Linked DNA regions of Homo sapiens: region 2 is linked to region 1. Evidence: promoter capture Hi-C in 16 types of primary human blood cells and fetal thymus (Javierre and others, 2016). All regions are on one chromosome and are shown on one strand. The core of a region is centred on a gene start or on the middle of the fragment in contact, and the rest is flanking DNA. Distances in the headings are between cores, read along the strand shown.

The links. The method cuts DNA at HindIII sites, captures the fragments that hold promoters and counts their contacts. A CHiCAGO score of 5 or more calls a contact.
Region 2: a fragment that was not itself captured here is called in contact with the fragment with the promoter of ZNF25 in region 1 in 1 of 17 cell types (neutrophils); the score reaches 5.5 in neutrophils.

The regions. Positions count from the first base shown.
Region 1 is chr10:37,974,927-37,978,111 of GRCh38, forward strand. It overlaps ZNF25 (zinc finger protein 25), which reads right to left and starts at 1,721. Exons shown (of 6, transcript NM_145011.4): 1 at 1,580-1,721. It overlaps ZNF25-DT (ZNF25 divergent transcript), which reads left to right and starts at 1,829. Exons shown (of 6, transcript XR_930830.4): 1 at 1,829-2,079. RefSeq lists enhancers at 605-694, 1,735-1,964 and a silencer at 1,285-1,694. The HindIII fragment of the contact is 11,670 bases long and covers 1-3,185 here.
Region 2 is chr10:38,062,873-38,066,057 of GRCh38, forward strand. It overlaps a transcript of ZNF33A not described here. Among named protein-coding and RNA genes, the nearest start is that of ZNF37A, 30 kb to the right of the region's middle. The HindIII fragment of the contact is 1,932 bases long and covers 743-2,674 here.

The sequences.
Region 1 (3,185 bases), core at 471-2,970:
CAGACATAAAAAGAAGGAAATTTTGTCATTGCAGCAACAAAGATGGAACTGGAGGGCATTATGTTACATGAAATAAGCCAGGCACAGAAAGACAAATATCATGTTCTCACTCATACGCAGGAGCTAAGATAGTTGATCTCATGAAGATACGATGTAGAATGATGGTTACCAGAGGCTGCGAAGGGAAGTAGGGAGTGAGGAATGAAGAGAGGTTGGTTAATGGGTACAAAAATACAGTTAGGTAGAAGGATTAAGTCCTAGTGTTCAATAGCACAGTATGGTTACAAGTGTTAGCAATAATTTATTAGCTATCAGAATAGCTAGAAGATTTCGAATATTTGCAACACAAAGAAATGATAAATGAGGCGGTGGATATTGTAATTACCCCGATTTGATCATGACACATTGTATGCATATATCAAAATATCACATGTACCCCACAAATATGTACATTATGTACCAAAAAAAAAAACTAAAATAAGCAGCAAAAACCACTTCCAGCTAGCATGGTGCTTACGAAATGCCTAAGCTCAGTTATCAGCCAATGAGAGGCATTATAAGATCACCACCATAAAATGGAGGAACTGATGAACTGCAGTTTTCATCTTTAAAAAAATTTTTTGTCCCATTTCCTGTCTTTAGAAACTAGCCTCTGGGCTGGATGGGATTCCCAGCTTCTCCTGTAAAATGCAAAATTGAGGGCTCAAATTGTGGTTTCAATTTACACGTTTCACAGTCCTCTGAGAAGAGACTAAGGTTGGAGGATGCAGGAAGGCCTTAAATAATTCACCTTTTGACTCAAGTGCTCTGAAGATTCCCCAAGCATTTTTGGAAACAGAACACTACCTGGTTGAGACTGGGTTCAAGTACACCACACAGCTACGTTCTGGTGGTGCTCAAGGGGCAAATGCTGTGCTAAATACAAGTCAAGACTGGATTTTAGTGTGGCAAGGCGCATTAACTCAGAGGAAAAAGTGAGGATTTACATCCCACCTGCTAATACTGTGGGTAAACGGATTTCTCTCTCTGAATCTTTAATAGTCACATTTATTTTAATAGAGATGGTTAAGTCGAAAGGATGGTTACGATGATTAAATGAGCCAATAATGAAAACAGCATGTTTTGTAATAATAGAAGCAGCTCACCTTTATTGAGTCCTGTATCATACTTTACATCTATTACCCTATTCAGTACCCAAAGGCCCCCATCATTTGCCAGATGCGCGTCGAGCCGCACTGGGACCACCTACAGACGCTGGACCAGAGCCCACGTCCCTGCGGCTTTGGAGCGCCGCGTCTGCAGCGGCCAGCGCGCCTCACATGGCGGCTCCGGTCACGTCACACAATGCGGCTGCTCCGGGCGCCCACTGCCCAGCACCGCAGGCCTCCTCTGGCCGCCCCTCAAGCAGGTCGCGCAAACGCCATTCCGGGCAGGGGCGCCAGCGCAGCCAGCCAACCTCCCCACCAGGCGGCTCCCACCCAGGGCCCTCCGCGGAGGCCGCTCCGGGGCCAGGAGGCGGCTTCCAGGCTCGAGACCCCGCCTCCCAGGCCCTGCCCGCCCGCAAAAGCCTTCGACACACCTGCAGGGTCTCGGCCTCTGCTCCCGGCCCGCGCCGGGCCCAGGCCCCGCCCTTTGCGGCCCAGCCCAGACCCGGAGGCACCGGAGTCCTCTCCCCACCCTAGGGCGTAAGACCAAAAAAACGCCAATGCCAGAAAGAAGACACTGCACATGCGCAGAACGTTTCCCTAGCCCTACTCCAGAACTACGCTTCCCAGAAGGCCCGGCTGCGACTCCATCTTGGATGACGTCGTGAGGCGCGGCCGCCTCCAGCGGCCTGAGTGATTGCTGTCGGGTTTCCGGGAGAGGGCGCTGTCCTTGCTCAGTGATGGCCGGAGAGCTGCACCCTGCACGTCTGGGCTTGAAGACAGAAATCCACCGTGAGGTGCTCCAAGGAACACTGATGGGCAGTTTTGTTAAAGTGATTGAACTCCGTGGGTACAGGAGTACGTGGAGTAATGAAGGATAATGCCCTGTAACCGCTTCCTCTTAGGAATGCTAGCTTTCACAATTGTGCAAACGGTACGCGAAACGTAATAAACTACAAAATATGTATAAGCTAAAACAGAAAACGAGTATACCACTTCCCAAAAGCAAAAGCGCTTAATGTTAGGTGAACATCCTTCTCATGAATTTACACAAATTTTAACCTAATGGTATAGAGTATCATGACTATCATTTCACTAAGGAATATATATAGTCATCCCTCCTTATCCTGGGGGTGCATATCTATGGATTCAACTAAGCTCAGAATGAAAATACTTAAAAATTCTATCTTACTGAACATGTACAAAGTTTCCCCCTTGTCATTATACCCTAAACAATACAATAAAACTATTTACATAGTATTTACATTGTGTTAGGTGTACAATTAATCTAGACATAATTTAAAATATACAGGAGGAGGTGTGTAGGTTATGCAAATATCAGGTTATTTTCTACCAGAGACTTGAACATCCCTGGATTTGAGTAATCCAGGGAGGTCCTGGTACTAATCCCCCGCGGATACAGAGAGAGGACTTGGCTGTATATGTAAAACAAATTATATATTTCCTGGTCAATAACTTTATTACATTAAAACATGTAGAATCATCTAGAAAAAAACGTATATATTGTCATGTGTATAAACACACATATATATACATATAAAAATATGCGCACATAATACACACACACACACCACCTTTCTGGATGGGAAGTATTGAGGAAATAATTTAAAATAAAGCCTCTTGCCAACCCAGAAAATTCTCTCCACAGATGGAGAAAAGAACAAAACAGTTACATTATTGAATAAACATTAAACCAGACTGCGATGTGCGTCACAGGCAACCCACTAATGAGTTTATGAAGACAGGAAGAACTATCATTTTTTGTATTAGCCGGTCTGGTACAACGCATTCTATTTCCTCAAGGTAAAAATAACTTGTCCTCAAGTAAGATGACTGTACAGCAACATTTGCTATGCATAATTCATCTGAAATTCACCTGATAATTAGGGTAGCCATCAGTGTTAGTTAATTGCCATTATGCAAATGAAAAGTAAAGTTTCTGGTATCTCTATGACACGCAGGTAGTTAACCGCGGGTAGCCAGGAGCCTAGGAGTTTACCACAGAGGCAGGGAGATGGG
Region 2 (3,185 bases), core at 459-2,958, 88 kb after region 1:
GGCGCCTGTAGTCCCAGCTACTTGGGAGACTGAGGCAGGAGAATGGCATGAACCCAGGAGGCGGAGCTTGCAGTGAGCTGAGATCACGCCGCTGCACTCCAGCCTGGACGACAGAGCGAGACTCCATCTCAAAAAAAAAAAAAAAAAAAAAAAAAAAAAAGAGGAAAAGTATCCTGTGCCGGTCATCTGGAAGTAAACAGTGAGTTTGGAGTATGCACACTCTAAAGAAACCCTAAAGCAAAATGCAACTGTGTCCGTGTGTAGTAATAACAGACTGGCATCTTTGCAGATACAAGCTATGAACTAGAGCAAGGCATTCTGACTGGTCCCACAGGTTCACATGGAAAGGAGATAGCACAAATGAATGAAGGAACTGTGGGAAAGACAGATATCTTAATAAATCACATTTCCTTTTTAAGGATATTTTTAAGGCACCGGTGGAAGCAGACATAGCTTGGTAATCTGTGGTGTATTCTCGGAAGGTACCACTTGAATGGGAAAGAGGAGACAGACAAAGACAACCAAGAGGCTTGAACTTGACAAAAATTATTTATAACAAAATGGGCAGCTTTGTGCATAGAGGTGCATGTAAATATATACAAAATGCTAATAGTATCAGAAGATGAACATCCTGCTTTGTTCAGTGATTTCATGGAGTTGTTTTGCATTTCCTTGTCATGTTCTCTGTCTACATGTTTAAAGGGAGGATTACATGTGAACACTATCCGGTATTATGCATCTAAGCTTGTGTTACCAATCATTGGTAGATAGATAGTGAGGTAACTTCTAGTTCCCATCTCCTCTGGTAAGAGCTAAGATGCAAACTCTTTGTGATGAACTGACATCAAGATGAAATATAGCACCCCTGTTTTCTCTGCGTCAGTCTGCCTTCAGGCTCACCCTGTGAACTCACCAAAGGGAGTGAAGTGTGGATGTGTCTCTTTTACCTATTTTCACCTTGGTTCAGTTCTGGTTTATGCATTGTCCAGACTACCCAGGATGTGACGATTGCAGGGAGGAGGTCATGTTTGTCATAAAAATGCTTTGGCTCCTTAGGATTCAGCAAAGGTATCCACTGCCTGGTGTCTGTGGTGCCTGCAGGACAGTGCATTCTGTAGGAAAACAGGAAGAAAAGAGGGCTTTCAGGCCATCTTCACATCAACCCTACGACAGACATTTTCAAATATTGTTCTCACCATCCTTACTCCCTCCCAGGCCCCTGAGATGCTCATGCCCTTGGATTAAACCCCTGCAGTGCTGGAAGAAGAGGACTCTGCACTGCCTGCCACACCAGGACTGGAAGATCCATGGCCTTCCCTTCTTCCAAACTACCTTCCCACAAGATGGGGATGGTGGTCACATCTCCAACACTAGCATGCTGTGGAAGAGACATCAGCATTCTTGCAACAAATCTGGAAACAGCCTAAAGAGACATTTCTACTTCAAAGAGTTGCACTGAGGAAGTGCACTGGCACTGCTGGGGACTCACCTGGGGCCCAGGGCTGAGGCTTCTCGTGTCCTTGGAGCTGCTGTCCTCCCGAGGAGTGTCCACACTGCAGCCAGCTCAGCCTCAGGTGTCTTCTCTGGTTTTGAAACCAAATCTAAGTGGGAAAAGAAGATTCAAGTTTTATCCGATTTAGTCTACATAATTTTAAGTATCTATTTGAGCTCAATACCAAGAATCACTTCCTTCTCTCTCCCATCTGTGATCTCCAGAGGAAAGGTCCCCGGGCTAGGAGACACTGGCTGGCATCCTAAAGCCAGAGCTGGCCAAAGGGTGTGTGTCCACTCTTCCTTCACCTCTTCCCCACCCCACACTTGTTTTTGTCTCACGCTCACTTGCTCTTTCTGCCTCCCTCTCACTCTTTAGGTCTCACAAAGGCTTTGGCCAAAGACTGACTGACTTTCCTTGGCTCTCTGTCATCTCCCCATAGTCAAAAGCATTTCATAACACACAATCCATGTGAAGGGACCTCTGATGAAAATCCATTTAAAGAGGAGCTCACTAATTATCAATACTTACTGCTGAGCCTGGAATCATTCATATATACCTCAGAGTTCATTCATTCCAGATGCAATACTAGATAAGGAGACTCCTATGAACCAAATATCTAACTCTGAATAGATAGTGACTGTCATAATCAAACCCTGTGGCTGCCTCCTCCTTACTGGAGGGTGTAGAGGAATGCAGTTTTTTGTTTGTTTATTTGTTTGTTTTGAGATCATCTCGCTGCAATGTCCAGGCTGGAGTACAATGGTGCGATCTCGGCTCACTGCAACCTCCGCCTCCCAGGTTCAAACAATTCTCCTGCCTTAGCCTCCCGAGTAGCTGGGATTACAGGCACACACCATCGTGCCCTGGCTAATTTTTGTATTTTGTGTAGAGACGGGGTTTCACCATGTTGGCCAGGCTGGCCTTGAACTCCTGACCTTGGATGATCACCCGCCTTGGCTCCCAAAGTGCTGAGATTACAGGCATGAGCCACCGTGCTCGGCCAGGAATGTGCTTTTAATCATTCCTTAGTGTTTCATGTGGGGACTTGATAACTCACGATAAGGATTCTATCCTAAAAGACAAGCGATACCTGTTGACCTGCTCTTATGTCCCAGGCAGTTTGTAAAACTGTTACATCTGTTCTCTCAATATGTCACTTCAAATACGATCAGGAAAGAAAGCTTAAACATGGCTGGAAATGTAGAGGCAACAAATACATTAGTGAACACCCTGGCAGATCCAGCCTCATTCTACATGGTTTCTTGTGCTTTCCTTCCGCACCACCAACTCCAGTGGGCTGGTTGCCAGTGCACCAGCCAATTTCCATGTCTTCCCATGGGACACACTTTTTTTTTTTTTTTGAGACGGATTTTTGCTCTTATGCCCAGGCTGGAGTGCAATGGCCCTATCTGGGCTCACTACAACCTCCGCCAACCGGGTTCAAGCAATTCTCCTGTCTCAGCCTCCTGAGTAGCTGGGATTACAGGCACATGCCACCACGACTGGCTAATTTTTGTATTTTTAATAAAGACAAGGTTTCACCATACTGGCCAGGCTGTTCTCGAACTCCTGCCTCGGCCTCCAAAAGTGCTGGGATTACCGACGTGAGCCACTGCCCCTGGCCTGGGACACACTTTCATTCTGGGATTTGATGTAGCACTCTGACACCTGGACTGGGTGCATAAAGAGA